2 separate regions of the Homo sapiens genome follow, and region 1 is linked to region 2. The links are contacts of gene promoters, found by promoter capture Hi-C in human tissues and cell types (Jung and others, 2019). All regions are on one chromosome and are shown on one strand. The core of a region is centred on a gene start or on the middle of the fragment in contact, and the rest is flanking DNA. Distances in the headings are between cores, read along the strand shown.

Region 1 (3,427 bases), core at 504-3,003, 720 kb before region 2:
GGACTCCATGGTGGACAGGGGGACAGAATGTCCTGATTGGCCAGGCCTGGGTCAGGTGCCATCACCAGGGCCAGGGGGAATGAAGTCAGCCCCTTCTGAACTAATAGTAATAATATTAATACTAGATGACATTTGGGGGGTGTTTACTATGTGCCAGTCACTCTTTTAAACATTTTATCTGAATTAACTCATATAACCCAAAAACTCCATGAGGTAGATACTATTCTCCACATTTCTTATATGAGGCACAGAGAGGTTAGGAATTTTTCCAGGTTCACATAGCTGGTCAATGGCAGAGCCAATATTCAAACCTAGGCAGTCAGACTTTAGTTTCCATACTCTTTATGGCCTGGACCAAGAATAGGAGTAGAGGCTCACAGAAAAATCAGATGCTGGCCAGGCACAATGGCTCATGCCTGTAATCCAAGCACTTACAGGGAGTCTGGGACGGGCAGATTGCTCGAGCTTAGGAGTTAGGGACCAGCCTGAGGAACATGGCAAAACCCTGTCTCTACAAAAAAATACAAAAATTAGCTGGGCATGGTGGCACGACCTGTGGTCCCAGCTACTCTGGAGGCTGAGGTGGGAGGATCACCTGAGCCTGGGAAGTTGAGGCTGCAGTGAGCCATGATTGCAGCACTGCACTCCATACTGGGTGACAGAGGAAGACCTTGTCTCAAAAAAAAAATTTTTTTAAGTCAGATGCTGTTAAGAATATTGGGAGATGATACAGCATAGACAAAAATGGTATCTATACCTTGCAACTGCCCACTAATAACCATAAAGACATGATGTGCCATGTAAAGCATGATCTAAGGAAAACCTTCATGTTCTTTATGCAGAAACTTGGGCTAGATGTGGTGGCTCATGCCTGTAATCCCAGCACTTTGGGAGGCTGAGGTGGGAAGACCTCTTGAGCCCAGGAGTTCAAGACCAGCCTTTGCAACATAAGGAGACCCTGTCTTTACAAAAACTTTTTTTAAAAATTAGCTGGGCATGGTGGTACATGCCTATAGTCCCAGCCACTCGGAAGGCTGAGGCAGAAGGACTGCTTAGCTCAGGAGTTCAATGCTGCAGTGAGCTATGACCGCACCACAGCACTCCAGCTTGGGTGACAGAGAGAGACTCTGTCTCAGAAAACAAACAAAAACAAACAAAAAAATTGGGTAATTGGGTATCTTCCTCTCTACTCCAGATGGGATTCTTTTAGCCTTAGGTTCCCCTTATTGGATCCAAAGTTGAGAAGCTCTTGGGTCACTTAGTCAAGAATTCCTGAGGTATAGCAAATAAGAACATCTGGGACCACATGTTACCAACATCTGGTCACAAACTCTTAAAATAATATGGAGAAGTAGATTTGGAGAAACAGATGAAGAACACGAGGGGGAATGTGCTGGGTGACACCCACAGAAATGCACCTGGGGAATCATGATTGAAGCAAGGATGATTGAAAAGTCTCTGCAAGTATGTGTGACACTTCTGAGTATTGGGGGTGGGGTGGGGGTGGAAGGCCTCATGTATCTGTTGTTTCCTGGGCACTCAATCCTTTTTGAACAAGATGCTCTAGAGATGGTTATTCTCATTAGAACAAATGTTACTGACCCAATGTCTTCCTCGTTTATATTTCTTCTAATGTGCTTCTGCTTGAGCAAGTGAGCCCTTAATGTCCATTTCAATTAACATCACTGCATCTGATCTCAGTGGTGTCACTCATGGATGCAATGAGGGGCGGAGAAAGGTCACTGGGAAGTGGGGAGAGGTGTCCCCTCTTGTTTGAAGGCTTGAAGTCACTGGTGAGGGAGGTATTGGGAGGGAAGGTGTGGAATGATTTGCTCCCTACTTAATAAAGACCATACTTTAAAGATGTCAGCCTGTCTTTTGTTTGATAAAACACTAATGTGAAGACCTAGTTGCAAGGCAGAAAGCAGGGACAAGGGCTCTGAGGGCTAAGCCAGTGAGGAACGGGAGACACACAAACTTGCATTGACTTATGAGAGCTTCCTCCATAACCTTGAGCTCCCTAGCCGTCAGTCACAGTGGGTGGGAACTGTATGCTCCAAATCTGCTATCCAGTATCCTGGGGATTCCCAGGGATGGCTCAAAGCTGGTGGTCTGACACCAACACTTCTGTGTGTGGCCTGATCTCAGCATGGAAATGGGATGGACCAGAGTTTGGGGTGGGTGTAGCAGAGCAAGCCTCAGGGAGAGGTAGACAGTCACAACCTGCCAACCCTTCCTTGCTCTTGTTTTCCATCCTTCCTTCCCTTCCTTCCTTCCTAACAAGGGAATTTGTTCCCTTTGTGCCCTTCCAGAGGGAATTTGTTCAGGAAAGAGAAAATATGGATTTATGTTCTCCAAGACACAATCCTCAGGGATGATTCTCTCTCCTTTGAGAAGTCAGAGCATTTGTTTTTTCATCATCTTTGCCATCAATAACAATCATTAGAAGAGCTTACTATTTCTTGAGCACCTTCTGTGTATCAGGGGACATTACATATATTATTTCTAGCCTTCACAGCAACCCTCAAGGTAAATGTAATTTATGCCCACTTTACAGAGGAGGAAATTGGGGCTTAGAGTGCTTGAGGAGCTTGTCCAGTAAGTGGATTGAACTGGGCCCGGTTCATTCGATTTCTGGCTCCAATGTCATCAATTACTTGCAATATATACTTGCAAGGGCCTGGCTCCTGGCTAAGACCTGCTAATGGATGCATCTGAAATAAGAAATGTCTTCTATTCAAGTTCCAGACGTCCACATCAACAAGCATCAAACACAGAGTTTAACCTGCATCGTACTGGCAGTCAAGATGCAAGGGCTGTAGTCCTGGTTCTGCAACTCTTTTGATGGGCAGCTTTCAGTGTATATGTGTGAACTCCCCTCTCCAGTAGAACTCCCCTCTCCAGTTGTCATTTCTCCATCTGTAAAATGGGCAAGTTTGACTAAATATCTCCAAGAGTCAGCTCAGTTCAATCCAATCTGACAGCACCCATGGGGCTTTCCTGTGTGACTGTGCCAGAAGGAAATAAAGATGGACAAGGCAGACCTCCATTCTCTAGGTGAGCTAAATGTGTGCTCTAATAGTTATACATAAAGAGCAACAAAGCTTGGAGAGCACGGCATCTCATTTAGACTTGGCCAGTGGCAATGTGTGTGGCACAGGAGATGAGGCAGGCTTCAGGGTGGAGGCGCCATTGGCAGTTGGGCTTGAAAAGGAAATAGAACATGTGGAGGTGGAGACAGGAGGAAGCTTTTCCCAGCCAACACCACATGGAGCAGAAGAACCACCTGGTCATTCTATAAAATTGTGAGAAGTAACAAATCATTGTTGTTTTAAGTCACTACATTTTCGGGATGATTTCTTACGTAGTAATAGATGACAGACCCCAAAGGTGGGTGTGTGATTATAGGCTTTATCCTATAAAGGTC
Region 2 (3,459 bases), core at 399-2,898:
CAGCTACTCGGGAGGCTGAGGCAGGAGAATGGCGTGAACCCGGAAGGCGGAGCTTGCAGTGAGCCGAGATCGTGCCACTGCACTGCAGCCTGGGCAACAAGAGCGAGACTCCGTCTCAAAAAAAAAAAAAAAGTTTTATCACTAGATCATTAACCTCTGGCCTAGGTCACCTCCGGCCTCCTTTTGGGCTAGGTGGGCAGTTCTCGGACCCTCCCCCACCAGCCCTGCTCTGCTGACCTAGAACCTCTGGCCCTGGAGATTCTGATATGTGTATTTGTGGTCTCTTCTCGGGCATCTCCCAGGCCACTGGGAGAGCTGGGGCCTAGAGCGTGGGGTGGGTGGAATCCTGAGGGCAGAGAGTGTGGAAGAATCTTACAATGGCAGCTCTAGAGGGAAGCCTGGATATGTTTGTTTGACAAACTGAGACCCAGAGAGGTAACATGACTTGAGGTCACACAGCAAGTCTAGGGCACAGTCAGGACTGAAAGCCAGGACTCTGGGGAGGCTAAAGCGCCCTGAGGTTTAGACCATCTGGTTCATGTAGAGAATGGAGAGGGTCAGGGCTGGGAGCTATGGGTTCAAATCCTGGCTCTGCCATTGACTGTACTTTTGTGACCTAAGAAAGTCACTTGAGCTCTCTGAGTCTGTTTCCTCAACTGTTAAACGGGACAATATCTACCTTTTGGGTTGTTGTGAAGATAAAAAAACACACCCATAGCACAGGTCGTGGCACACAGTAAGTGTGCCAATACATGTCAGCTAGTGGTATGGTGGTGCAATAGTAGGTGCCTAATAAATGTTGAATGCATTGTTGAACATGAGTTCACACGCTAACAGTGAGATTGTGAGACTCAGCTTTCCCACGTGTAAATCAGGACTCATAATCAGTCCCTGTCCTGCCACTTCTTTACAGCCCCGGTAGCAACATAGATTAAATAAGGTATGTAAACGTTCAAGCGCGGAGCCGTCTCAGGTCAATGTTTACTCAGCCCAGGGCAATTCCTCTCCAAGTCCTACTCTGCGAAATTTCACGTCAGCTTCACTAACTTCTCTACATTCCCAGATGCTCCCCGGGAACCGGGGGTTGGGGATGTCCCTCTTTTCTCAAGCCCGCCGAGCTGAGGAAAAACGGGGTGGGAAAGCAGAGTGTGTAAGGCTGAGGAGGTGAGCCAGAGGGGGGAGGGAGAGCAGGAATAAGGGCAGTGGGGAGAATGCAGGTGCACGGACGTGGTGTGGGTCGAGAACAGGGTCCGCATCGGGGGACTTGGATATAGGATGCAGTGAAAGGATTTGGGGAGCAGTGGGAGAGGTGAGGGCGCTGCGATCCGGGAAGAATCAGGAAAATAAGGAGCCGGTAGGAGGGAGTGGAGATCCTCCTCGCGGAGAGCTCGCCGCGGCGCAGGGCTCCCAGCTCCCCGCAGCTGCCTCCCCGAACACTCACCCTCCCGGTTCCGAGAACGTTTCCCGGCCCGAGCGCCCGGCCCGCAAACCGGGAGGGGAGGGGAGGGGAGGGGCAGGGGGGGATCCGCAGCCCGGGATTGGCCGCCGCCCCGCCAGCCGGTGACGCGAGGCGGGCGGGCCCCTTTGTGACGTCACAATCAGCTGTTTGAACGTTCCAATTTGTGCCGTGAGCCCCGCCGCAGCGGCCGCACAGACTCAAAGCCCCGCGGGCGAGCTCAGCAGCCCGGAGCGACCGCGGCCCCGCCGCCTCCCCCGCGAGTCCCGGCGATGCGGCCCGGCCTGTGAGCGGCCGGCGACCCTGGGACGCCCCGCCGCACAACTACCTCAACGCCGTGCCGCCCCCCTCCCGCCCCCAGGTGAGTCCCGACCCGGGTGGGCCTGGGGGCTCCCCTGCCACGGACACGCCCTGCGCCCCCCGCGCCCGGGCCTTTGTCTGTCTCCGCCGGCGGCCGCCGGGGCCGCGTTCCCGGCTCCCGATTGGTTGCCGCACGCCCGGTAGACCATGACGTCGTTCTATTTGCATATGACATTGAGACGTCACCAAGGCCGGTACCGCCCCCACAGGCTCGGGTCGCTTGTCCTCCCGTGACCCGGTAGCCGCTGTGTCGGGGCTGGGCCCTGGGTGAGACGCTGCAATCCAAAGGGGGCTGCAGGGGGATCGGCGATTTCCTAGGCTTATCCAGGGGCTGGGGTCAGGCCTCTGATCCCCTACTTTCTCTTTGCAACCTGAGAAGGAGTCAGACGGCGCTGCTGGGCCTAGGTTGAGGGGGTCGTCAGGAGTTCAGGGCTGCATGGGACTCCAGGTGGTTGGGACAGCACCAGATGGTGGTGGGATCCCCTCCCTCCGGCTCCAGACTCCGCCCCCAGGGACTAACAGAATAACATCCTCCTAATCCCTGATTTGTGTGCAGCGCCTTAGCTGATGTCACTCCTAGACCCAAAATGAAGGGTCTTAGACCCCAGTGCATGGAAGGGGCAACAGGCCCAGAGAGGAGGATTAGCTCTCTCGAGGTCACATAACCAATTAGAGTCATGCTCACTGAGTGACAGATGGATTATTAGCCAGGGGCAAAGACATAATAGGGGCTCAGTACAAGTGGTAAGATACACATCCTCCTTCCACTGGGGACCCGATCTTGGGCTCAGCCTTATCACGGTTTGATAGGCTCCTAGGTGTCCTTACTCCTGGACCCTTTTCCAGGGAATCTCTGGAGATTGGTTCACCTTTTGTGGTCCTGACCCCTTCTGTCCTCACTGTACCTTGAAGTCCTAGAGTCCAATAAAATCGCTGCCTCCCAGCTGTTTGGATCACAGAGAGGTGAGTCATTGGCTGCCTCGGGGTGTCTCCAGGGCTGATGTTGGGGTGGAGGGTGGGGTGAGGGTTCCCTCTATTGGCCCTTTACCTTCCCAACTTCCTAGGTCGTCAGCTAGGAAGGGCCTGACCTGGCCTAGTGCAGACAATTGCAGGTGTTTTGCTGCTCCCTCGTCACCTCTGCCCACAGAGAGTATAGGAGAAGGGATAGGATAAGGAGAGTTTCTGACTTAACAAGTGGATGGGCCTAGAGGCTGAACCAGGAACTCCATTCCTGCTGGGAGTTTGCTCAAGGATGGGCTGGGGGTAGGGGTGGCTTAGGGCACAAATGCTATTCTGGGCAGAGCTGCTGTAGTTATTAAAGGGAATGGTTCTCCCTGGAGCAGAACTGGGAATGTGAGAACCAGGAAGCTGGCAGGGCTGGGAAAGGAAATCTGGGAGGCTCCCCAAGTGGTCAGGAGAGGGGGCAGGCACTGGCTGGCTGGTGACTGCTTTCACTCCTGGCTGTCACTGACTTGCTGTGTGACCTCAGGCAGGGAGCTTTTCCCCTGAGCCTCCCTCCCCTAAACCTATCTGAAATTTGGGGAGGCACAGTGCAGGCTCTGGTACACAGTGGGTCTTCAGTAAATGCATGCTAAATCTTGGTGCCAGTAACCCCAGACCCTTTTGTAGCTAGGCGAGGGGTG

Evidence for each region. The method cuts DNA at HindIII sites, captures the fragments that hold promoters and counts their contacts. A contact is called where the count stands out against the background at its distance.
Region 1: a contact is called between a fragment that was not itself captured here and the fragment with the promoter of TP53INP2 in region 2, in 1 of the 25 tissues and cell types used here (dorsolateral prefrontal cortex).

What each region holds. Positions count from the first base shown.
Region 1 is chr20:33,987,095-33,990,521 of GRCh38, forward strand. No RefSeq gene overlaps it. Among named protein-coding and RNA genes, the nearest start is that of RALY, 5.1 kb to the right of the region's middle. The HindIII fragment of the contact is 5,978 bases long and covers 1-3,427 here.
Region 2 is chr20:34,702,696-34,706,154 of GRCh38, forward strand. It overlaps TP53INP2 (tumor protein p53 inducible nuclear protein 2), which reads left to right and starts at 1,649. Exons shown (of 5, transcript NM_021202.3): 1 at 1,649-1,817; 2 at 2,663-2,779. It overlaps LOC105372599 (a long non-coding RNA gene), which reads right to left and starts at 1,487. Exons shown (of 2, transcript XR_936690.3): 1 at 1,442-1,487; 2 at 964-1,118. RefSeq lists a silencer at 1,445-1,924. The HindIII fragment of the contact is 10,895 bases long and covers 1-3,459 here.